2 separate regions of the Homo sapiens genome follow, and region 1 is linked to region 2. Evidence: promoter capture Hi-C in 16 types of primary human blood cells and fetal thymus (Javierre and others, 2016). All regions are on one chromosome and are shown on one strand. The core of a region is centred on a gene start or on the middle of the fragment in contact, and the rest is flanking DNA. Distances in the headings are between cores, read along the strand shown.

What was found. The method cuts DNA at HindIII sites, captures the fragments that hold promoters and counts their contacts. A CHiCAGO score of 5 or more calls a contact.
Region 1: a contact is called between a fragment that was not itself captured here and the fragment with the promoter of LINC00092 in region 2, in 6 of 17 cell types (non-activated CD4 T cells, endothelial precursors, naive CD4 T cells and 3 more). The highest score is 6.8, in non-activated CD4 T cells.

The regions. Positions count from the first base shown.
Region 1 is chr9:95,509,482-95,514,553 of GRCh38, forward strand. It overlaps a transcript of PTCH1 not described here. Among named protein-coding and RNA genes, the nearest start is that of PTCH1, 2.8 kb to the left of the region's middle. RefSeq lists enhancers at 1-234, 1,188-1,951, 1,952-2,713, 2,579-3,551 and silencers at 1,315-1,754, 1,975-2,024. The HindIII fragment of the contact is 2,460 bases long and covers 2,410-4,869 here.
Region 2 is chr9:96,019,490-96,025,236 of GRCh38, forward strand. LINC00092 (long intergenic non-protein coding RNA 92) reads right to left here and starts at 2,322. Exons shown (of 2, transcript NR_024129.2): 1 at 2,096-2,322; 2 at 243-1,792. LOC105376159 (a long non-coding RNA gene) reads right to left here. Exons shown (of 2, transcript NR_188619.1): 2 at 3,771-5,747. It also overlaps a transcript of ERCC6L2 not described here. RefSeq lists a silencer at 1,502-1,551 and enhancers at 1,762-1,811, 3,244-3,744. The HindIII fragment of the contact is 3,638 bases long and covers 1,104-4,741 here.

The DNA.
Region 1 (5,072 bases), core at 2,390-4,889, 510 kb before region 2:
CTGAGAGCGCCAACCTTCTCGCATGCAATACTTCCATTAAGGAATGCTCCCCCTCCTTTCTCTCTTATTCCTTTTCTTTTCAACAGTGTCTTCTTTTTGTGGGATGCCTTTGCGCGCACACACGCGCGCGCACGCACACACACGAACATTTGCCTCGCGGTAGACACGGGGGGAAATGTAATATTTTTTTAAGCGCTTAAACAATTTCTGAAATTCCTCAAAGAAAAGCCTTTCAGAGGCACCTTGGCCTCAAGCTGCAGCAAATACTGGGAGGTCCGGCTCGCATTCCCAGGCCTGCACCAATAATGACAGCGTGCTGGATAGTGCGCCAGTGTGTGCCAGATTTTTTTTTCCTCTTCTCTTTTCTTTTATAACTAAAGGGAAGACTTAGGCTCTTGCAGGGAACAACGCCTCGCATTAAGATAAACAGAATGGAAAGTTAAAGAGGAAAGCAAGGACGTTGGGAAAAGCCATCTTTCTTAAAATCCGTCTGCCCCCCAGCCGCTTTCTCCCCCCAACTTAAAAAAAAAAAAAACACAGTCTTGGTTTGAAGGAGTCAGTGTTCTATAAACGTGGAATCCAGACACCGAAGCAGTCTTGTAGAGGCAGAGGCGTTTTTATTTGAATCTCGAATGTGACATAAGTAAAAGAGAAACAACAGAATCTTTTTTTACAACTTAGAGAAACGGAATTGTTTCCTTGAGAGAGTAAAGTTTTCCTGATTATTTTGGGTTCATTTGTACACCCCTTTTTATTAACCAGATGTTTATATAGTCAGTATTTTTTTTTACAAAACTCGGTATGCATGTTATATTTAATAATAGTATGACGTAGGAGATTATAAATGCCCCGATGCTGGATTCATTGAAAACAAACTGTGCGCGGATCGCGAGGATTCGTCCCGACACCGCGTCCAGTGTCACCAAGGCATCCCGGGGATTCGCTTCCCGCGGAGGGGGAAAACACGCGACCCTTTGAGGTGGATTCTGGAGCCAGACACGTCTACACAACTAGGCTTTTTATTTAAAAAAATTTTTGTTTTCGGAAAGTGGAATGTGTTTTTCTTACGTTTCCAAGTTATTACGTTCCTCCCTGCGGTAGGAACCCGACCCGCAAACCCTTGATTTGCTTCACTTTATTTTTTTTTTTAAACGGGGTTGAACTGCAGAGGGACTGGCAGTAGCGAGAAGTCTAGTGAAGTCGTGAAATGGGGCGGTGTGGCTTTAAGATGCGCACGGTGTATGTTCATTGAAAAAAAAAGAAGAAAGAAAGGAAAGGAAAGAAAGAAACCCAGATGGAGGGAAAGGGGGAGGAGCAGGGAGAAGGCGGAGCTCCGGTGGCCACGTGACCCCGCGCCAGGAGGCCCGGTGCGCGCGCGCGCCCGGCTCCCGGACTCCCCGCGCCCGCGCGGCCGGGGCAGAGTAGGTAGGGAGGCGGATGCGCCGGGCCGGCTCCGGGCCTCCAGCGCGGTCTCCCGAGAGCCCAGGCGAGGCGCGCGCCCAGCCGGCGCGGACGGACGTGCCGGACGCGCCGTAGTACATTCCTGAAGGCGGACCGGCCCCCTTACGCTGCCCAATGCCCGCGCCGCCTCCCCGCGACCGGCCAATGGTCGCGCTCACGAGTCCCTGCCCATTCAGCGGCCCCGCGCTGGCTGCCCGGGCGCGCTGGGGGCTGCGGCGGGGCGCGCCGGCCACCGGGGCGGTCCACGCGGCTCCCGCAGGGGGCCCGTCCGCCGGCTCTCCCCGCCCCCTTCCTTCCTCCCCGGCGGTTTCCCCTCCCCGCTTCCTTCCTTCGGCCTGCGCCTTCTCCTTCCTCCCTCGCCCCGCTCCCTCCCTCAATCTCCCCTCCCCCACCAGCCTGGCCACCTTCCCTCCAGCCTCTCCTCCTCCCCGGCTTCAGGGGGAGGCCCTTCCCCCGACCCCCTAACCCGCAAACCGTATGCGGTGCCGGGGTCAGGGCGGGATGTCCCGAGGAAGAGAGGGAGACGGGGTGGAGGTGTTTGGGGGCGTTCGCGGGATCCGGAGGGGGACCTGAGCACCGGGCCAGCGCGGAAATTCAAAACTCAGACCGCTTAAGGAGCACGTGATTTTGTGAGTGCCTCAGGGAAGGGCTGCGGAAACTCGGAAAGCAGGCGGGCAGCATGCGAGGAAAATGACACTGAGTTGATAAAGAGCTCAGACGGCTCCACACATTGCCAGTTTCATCTTTGAGTACGATCCTGATGTTTATTAGGTTTGATAAATAGCACAAAACAGGAAAAGAGGTTTACTATTCTAGCTTTTCTTACTGAATGGTTATGCCGACACTTCAAGTCGAACCATTGTGTGTTTGCTTCTGGAAATTGCTTTTTAAAAACTGGGGGAGGGGGGTAGTACCCCTAGTTTTGCATGTTAGCCTTTTTATATTTCAAGCTTGCTGGAGGGCAAGGAACCATATAGCCAAAGACACGTTGCTATGTTTGTCTTTTCAAACTTCTCCACCACGTTTTGGCCCAAAACTATTAGTGTTTCGTCTCAATCTTTTACTAGAGGGATTTCAGTATAGCTTGTTTGGAAGAAGGAATTCTGGAAGGAAATGGTAAGCTGTGTGCCCGTAATGGATCCGCCTCACTCTCCGCACGCGGCTGCATGTCCTCTGGTTCCGGCGGCTGCCACATGCACGTCATTTCAGTGGCAAAGCCTCTTCCACTCAGGCCCATATCCCTTAGTTTGACTTAATTCCTAAACGTTTTGAACATTGATCCCCGGAGCTTTCAGTGCCCTGAGCCCCCTCGCCCGCTGTTTGATGGGTTAACTTTTCAGCATCTCAGACAATGGTCCCGGCCTGTAAATTCTACCCGTGGGTTCCAGGACGCACTCCGGAGCCTCGGCTCTAACGAGCGCTATCTTAATCTCCCCACCCCCCACCCGCCGCTTCCCCTGTGGTCTGCTTTTTTCATACTTAGAGATGAATTACTTTGAGGATCTAATTGGCCTTGTTTCTGTAACGTTTTAAGAAAGGGAAGAGGAGCCAGTGTAAAAGCCTGCTCGACTTGGGTGGTCAGGGCTGAGGCTGCCCCCAATTTGCCTCATTGCTGATGCATGCGAGTGCGACATTCCCAGCGATAATGTTGTTCCTAATCAATCTGCCCTTATTTACATTTGTAAGCATTGTCGGCTTTAATATGCATGCCCTGTGCAGGGGACTGCTGTGCCACACCGGGTTTGTTAACTTCAACTAACCACAAGGATTCCACAGATCTGAGATGCAGACTGGGGCAGCCAGACCTGCTAAGGTGTCCTCCGGGAAGACAGTCCCTTTAAATGGCCCTTCTGCCTCTGGCACCCCTTGTGACAGTTACCAAATAAAAATAAGTGAGAACTTGGGGCCTTATCAGCCAGCAGGAGTTGCCAGCCTTTATGAAGCAACAGCTGAGTGTTCCATTTCCCCTTTCCAAGTAAAGTTCATCTCAATGCATAAATTGTCATTTTGGTCTCCCAGTCATGATCCAAGACTTCTCATTGGAGTGTGTAGTTTTCAAAGCAGATGCCTTAAGCTCTCCGGATTCCCTCACATCTCCTCCCTTCTCTGTTCCAATACTACAAATATCCATGGCCACACCACACACATTTCAAAAATGACATCAGATTATCCAAATGATGACAATGAAATAAAACATCTGCCCTTTGTGTTGGGATGTTCCAATGGTAAGCAATTGTGGAAGCCAGACTTGGTGGAGTTATGAAAAACCACAGTGAGATTTAACTTTTCACTGGTTTCTCAGATCAAACCAAATGAGTCTTTAAAATCCAATGTAATTTGGCAAGTTTTGCAGAGTATAAATGAATAAAGGGGTTAATGTATTCCAGTAATTTGACCCTGGGGCCATTTATAATTTTGTCTACTGAGTTTAATACTCTTCCAGAAATACAAGGAATTGCAAACATGATTTTAAGTCCTACAGTATTTTTGTTGAGAGGGTCGGATGGAGAGAGGAATTGGGGATTTGATGCAATATTCTTTTACTGCATGGGGAGCCCAGGATACAGGATGTGAGTGATGGTCAAGGCAGGGCTTCAGCAGTTCCAAGCAGGTACCTTGAATATGAGTTGAGTCGACTCAACTCAAGCCAATGTGCCACCATCCACCACATTTTCTTGGCTCCCTAAGAATGCCTTACTATTTTCTCATTGGCAGCTTTTGTATATTCTTAAAAGGTGATGGTAGAAAATGAGTCTAAAAGGTTTCAGGGAAGTCGGGGACGGGGTGGGGGGAGATTCAGCAGCTACAAAATTTAAAACTACTGGGCTTGACTCCCCTCCCCTACTCCCTTCCACCTTCTGTTTCCTCCCCTTATTTACCCCCTCCCCAGGCTGGAGGAAAGGGAACAGCTCTAGCCAACTTGTCAAAATAATGCTGCTAATTACCCCTGATCTCCTTTAATGGGAAGCTGCTCCTAACTCCACAAAGGAGTAAATGAGGGGTCTACAGCACAAACCCGGGAGCACTGGCATTTTTTGAGCTTACAGTGAGCTGGGGGTGGGGAAAGCGGCAGAGGGGAGTGTCCTGAGAAGGTCCCAGAAATCTCCACATTGATTACTCCAGGTCTAAATACTAGCTTGAAAGGGGAATTAGACTTTATGTATTGCCAAAAGCTATTGGTATTCTCTTGCTAAGCATGTCACCAACTGCTGAATGTTCAGAGCCTACTATGAACTTGAAAGAAAACAGAGCATTGACCCCTGCATTGATCCCTCTCTCTCCAAATATATTCTTACCCACATTGCTTTCCTCTCATGGATAGAGATGTATTCCTACAACACCCAGACTTTGAACATGTTTTGCATCCTTCCCTCTCCTCGCCTCTCCCTGTCTAATATATCTCTATCAAGCTTTGCGTTTGCTAGGAGGCACACCATTCATTTCAGTGATCTCTGCTATTGGGTCCTGCATGAAAAAGAAGCTGAGCAACATGATCCCTTTGACCCACTGCTGGAGCAACAAATTTATCAGAAATATAGGCATGAGAAATGAAAGGGAAGTAAAACAATTCCAGCTTATTGTGTGTCTTTCTTTCATACTGCTAATCCGGT
Region 2 (5,747 bases), core at 1,072-3,571:
TCCATGTCACCCCTGACTCCTGAATCGACAGCTCCCTCTCTCAGCTTCCTGCTCACCAAGCTCAATGGAGCCTCAATGACCTGCCCACTGTTGCCTGAGGCAGCACTCTCACTGTCCCAAGACCCCATCACACCTTCACCTTGCTGGGACCTCCTAACTCCCTCAGCTTCCCCTACTCCACATTGGGGGTGTATCAGTCCATTCTCACGCTGCTATGAAGAAATACCCGAGAAATACCTGGGTTAATTTATAAAGCAGTTTAATTGGCTCACAGTTCCTTATAGCTGGGGAGGCCTCAGGAAGCTTACAATCATGGAGGCAGTTCACGTGAAGGGGGAAGAAAGGCACCTTTCTCACAGGGTGGTGAGAGAGAGGAAGGGGGACGGGGAAAGCCCTTTATAAAAGCATCAGATCGGCTGGGCACAGTGGCTCACGCGTGTAATCCCAGCACTTTGGGAGGCCGAGGCAGGCAGATCACAAGGTCAGGAGTTCCAGACCAGCCTAACCAACATGGTGAAACCCTTTCTCTACTAAAAATACACATTAGCCGGGCGTGATGGCGCGCACCTGTAATCCCAGCTACTCGGGAGGCTGAGGCAGGAGAATCTCTTGAACCCGGGAGGCAGAGGTTGCAGTGAACCAAGATCGCGCCACTGCACTCCAGCCTGAGTGACAGAGTGATACTCCGTTAAAAAAAAAAATCTTGTGAACTCACTGTCACGAGAGCAGCGTTCAGGAAACCACCTCCATGATTCAATTACCTCCACCTGGTCCCGCCCATGACACGTGGGGATTATTAAAATTCAAGGTGAGATTTGGGTGGGGAAACAGAGCCAAACCATATCAGGGGGCCAGGCCTTCAGCAGGTGGATAAGATGGGAGGAGTTCTGAAATACACACCCGGGATGCTCCAGAGGCCAAATCATAGGGCAGGTCATCCCAAGGACAGCAGTTAATTCACTGACATGCCAGCAAAGGGCAAACCGAATCGGCCCCGCGGAGCCCAGGTAGGGGCGCCGCTCACCTCCTAAAATGCCCTCAAAGACCCCTTAGGGCACAGCCATATGCTGAGACATGTTGGGGTGGACAAGCAGGTCTCAAGAAGCTTAGAATGTCCCCTAGGTGGACGCTAAGGGACAAGGCCCACCGAGGAAGGCAGCTGCAGATGATGGAATGCCCTCCCAATGGCGGGAACAAGCAAGGCTTCCGCAGCTCAAAAGGAGAAACATGCTTTGCGCTGGAGTCCTCAGAAAAGGCCACTTCCAAACTGTGGGGATGGGGAGTGGACGGGCCTAAGAGAATGGGAAGGCAGAACACCCCTTCTCCAGTCTCCCTTGGCCGTTAAAACCCCAGAGCAGCAGCAACGTGGGCTGTTTGGTGCGGAGGTTCCTGGTTTGGGTTGGCCAGGCGTAGAGTGCTTCCGACAATTCACCCACCCTCCAAGACGCGCGGGCCGGGGAGCGGGGAGAGGGCGGAGGGAACGGCGCACCGGGCCCCGTCGGACTGTTGGACCAAAAGTCCTCAGTGTCGGGGGCTCGCAGCGCCGCCGCGGCGAACCCAGCTAGGGGGCACCGCCTGCGCCGGGCACAGGGAGGCCGTTCGGCTTTCCCCCTCGCGCCCATTACTCTCAGGCGTCCCGGGGAACCCCGCGGGCCAAGTGTCGGGCTGCGTCCGGGCAGAGGCGGCTTCGCCTGGTGTCAGCGCGTTTCCGAAGGGCACCCGCGGCGGGGCCCACAACTCGAGCTGGGAGCCGCCCCAAGCAACCCGTTCCTCCGAATCAGGCTGCTTTTCTCTGTAAAGAAAAGAGAAAGCAAGCGATTAACTGATGGCTTGGCCGGCTGGAAACGGGAAAGCGAGTTCTCCAGGAGCCGCACACCTCGGGGAAGCCCAGTCCCTCCCGGGCAGGGAGCGAGGGGCGGTCCTGGGGGCTGCTTCCCGCGGGGAGAGAAGGGAGGGCGGCGCAGCCCTCTGCGGGGTCCGCCCCTCGGTTCTCCGGACCCCCGCGGCCTGGGGGACACGGGGCAAATTCTCGGATAGCGACGGGCAGGAAGGGGACCCGGGCTGGCGATGGGCCGAGTGCCTCCTTTGCTCTCACCCCCGCGCGAAGACGAGGCCAGTGGGCGGGTGGCGTGGGGCGAGGCCTCCGCAGGCCGCCGGGGGCCCAGGCACCTGGAGCCGGGAGGGTCCGCTCCCTTCCCCGCCCTGGATGGCGGCCTATGGGAAAGCAGTCTCCACTGGATCCCGCGCGCGTCGCGCCGAGGTCGTGGGAAACCGAGGGCGGGAGGGCGGGAGGGCGGAGGCGCCGGCAGGGTCGGCGGGACTGGGGCTCGGACGGAGGACAGGGGCGAGGAGGAGGCAGGAAGGACGCCGGGTACTGCGGGGCGCCTAGGGGGTTCCGAGCGCAGCGGCTGCGGGGCCGACCCGCCCAGGATGGAATCAGGGCCCCGGCGCCCCCACGCCGCTCCTCCAGGCCGAACCCCTGCGGCCCCAATCCCCCGGCCTCACGCCCACCCCGCAGGTCGGCCCTGCAGCTGCCTTCCCTTCCTCCACCTCCCTCCCGCCTCCGAAGCCGGCGCCCCCGGCCAAGTGGCCGCTCTCAACCTGTTACCAAGTCCTAGAGAGAATTTCTCCAAAATATTTCCTGGATCCCCCTGCCAAGGGCCCTGTCCCGCCCTTCCAGCTCCCAACTGGATGCCTGCAGACCTCTCCCCGGGTTCCGAGGCTCTGGCCTCCTCCCTCCCTAATCCATTTTCCACACCGCTTCCCCGGGAGCCCGTTAAAATACACCGGGACCGCGGCGGGTGCAAGCCTCCTGTATCTCCACATAGCAGGCTAAGGGGAATTGGGTAGGGAATAAAGGCTGCAGGGGACATCGGCTGGCAGGTATGAAGCCCGTATTGTGTGTCGTTTGTTAAACACTTCCAGTGGATTTTCTCGTTTAATCTGCCCAACAACGCTTCTGGGCCGGTATTCGTATTGTTTTATAGAGGGAGAAACTGAGGCACAGAGGGGCACTCGGCTTGTAAGCAACGGAGTAATTCAGAGCCCGTCAGCCCCACGCCGAGTTTATTCACCCTGGCAGGGGCTTCCGCGGGAGCCATGACCCTTCCTAACTGGGGTGGAAGGACCCGCAGCGCCAGCCGGGTCCGGGCCAGACGGCAGCGAGTGTCTGTTAATAGGGATGCTGAATGGGTCAGGCAGTGGGGCACAGGTTCAGTGTGATCTGGAATGCCTGCGAGGCCCCCTTGCTCATCCACCTGCCTTTAATGGATGGGTGGTCTGAGTTTCTGGAGATGGGCAAGATGGAGCAGTCTCCACACTTGGCTCTTCAGCCCCGGCGCCCCCCACAGCCGCCTCTGCTTTCCTGGAGATACCGCAGGCTCCTAACCTCAGGCCGGCTTGTGCTGCTCCACCCTCTCCCTCCCCCACAGACACAGGCCACTTAGCGCGCTCTCCCGTCCCTCACCCCTGCCAACAGCAGCCACTTCTGGCCACTTCCTTTACATGTGAATGAGTCCAGGTCTGGGCTGCCTTTGTCCGGGGAGGCCGGTGGGATTTCCATCAATAATTGTTGGTTGGTGAGTCAGGGGTCAGCAGTGGTCTCCTTTCCAGGACCCAGAAATGACACCACAAGGGTAACTGGCCACTATTTCCTGCCTAGGAACTAGCAGCATCCCACCCCCACCACTCCATGGCCTAGATAAGACAGGCCAAGACCCCAGAGACAACAGGACTCTGGAACAGGGAAGGGATTTATGATTAGCATAGGCTCTAGTTAAATTCCTTTTTTTATTTCTGTGCATTGACCTATTATGTAATATGCTTTTTTCTTCCTGGAATACAGATCCTACCAGTGGTTTTATTCCTTTTTTATATAATGTTTAATTCATCTGTCTCTGTAAATCCATCACATGAAATTGAAAGGGTCTCAAAGAGCAGACTGTTTCCCCCCTAACTCTTCCACTATTCAACCCAGGGGCAAGCACTGTCATCCCTCACTGCTACCAGCTTCTGGTCAGTCTTTCTGGCCACACGTATGTAGACATGCTTCATTCTTTTAACTGTGTTTTTGATGTTTTCTATATTAACACCAAAAAAAAGTACACTAAGAAATCAGTGCTATTTCCGAATGGAGCCCGGAGTTTCTCAGCACTGCGCTCCTCCAGTGCCAGAAGCACCCTACTTCTCTTCCTCAGTTGCTTCATCAATCACATGGGGCTGGGGCAGTGAGGAGGATGTATTTGCCTCACATAGAGACTTAAAGGTTTTCCTGATCTCCTCTGGGTACAGAACAAGAAATTAAGGATGATCTGAAATATACAGGGCTTGGATAAGACTTGAAACAATTGTGATGATAGGAATTGCTGGGTTCTGGAACCGAGGATTGCAGTAACCAGGGGCTCAGAAAGCTGAGATATCCCTCCAGTGAAAGGGGACCCGGGAGCATAACTGAACAAAAGTCATTTCTCTTCCTCATGATGGGTATTTCTCTTTTTCTGGTGAGAAGTGTCAGTATCAGCATTTATCTGCTGGAGACTGTTTAAATGTTAGGTGTACTTAGCAACGTTGCATCTATTTTTCTTAAACACGAATCACTTTCCAGAAGGGAACCGAAATGACCACCTCTAAAAGTTGCTACTAACTATTGCTCCAGAAACCAAAGTGATGCCACTCACATGGCTGGCCATAGTCTAATTTCTTCACAAACAGAGGCAGAGCAGCTTGCACCACGTAACCCCAAAGCTTTTCTGTAACTGATCAGAAGTTCCTTTCTCCACCCTTTAGCAGAGGTGCTGGTGACCAGGGAAGAGGAGAAGGTAAAGAGCAGAGTGAATGAAGGGAAGTAGGGGACATAGATTCTTTAAAGTCTGGGTAATCAATCCCAATGTATTCAAGAGAGACCTCAACTTGCTTTCCTAGATGGGACGTGGTGGCCCACGGCATCCATAGCAAACCACTCTCTTCTTGGATAGTTGGCTCCCAGACTTGAAGGCTGTGCTCCTTGCTGTCCTCGGACCTCTCCAGCGGTCTCTTTCTAGTTTCCTTGGTGGGCTCCGCCTCCTCCTCCTCACCTTGTCCCTTGGATTTCCCAGGGAGCTATCCCCAATCTAGGGTTAGTCTCATGCACCCACCATATTCTAGGGGCCCCTCCACTCACTCTCATGCTTTTAATGAATTCATTTATGGGTGATCAGGAATCTTCACCATAGCCCAATCACCCTTCTGAGTTTCAGGTGCACACCCTGTTGCTTTGGTGTGACTGCTTCCCGTTGGGTTATCCTTGGGCACCTCACACTCATTGTGTCCAAAGCAGAATTCTTCATCCTCAACTCTGCACTCATCCTATATTTGAGACTCCTAACTCAGTTAATCGCATTGCTTCAGTCATTGACCTCATAACCCAAATCTCAGCACCATCTTTTTTTATTTGGTTGGATGCTTCCATTCCTCTCAGCCACTGTATTCACTCAGTAACCAAGACTTCCAGAGTTGACCTCATAAATATTTCCTTAACTCTGATGCCTTCTTTCCAGTTTCCTACCAGTGTCCTAGTTCCTGAACCACTGGAATAGCTTCAAGTCTTTCACTTCTTAGGTCTTCTAGAGAAATTTGTCATATCTAGTAGAACTCTTTTGTTGAAAATGACGCAGACTGGTTTAAGCAAAAAAGCAAAATCATGGATGTCAGGCTGGTTTCAGGTGTGGCGTGGTGTCGAAGCTCAAGGGACACCACCCACACCCTGTGTC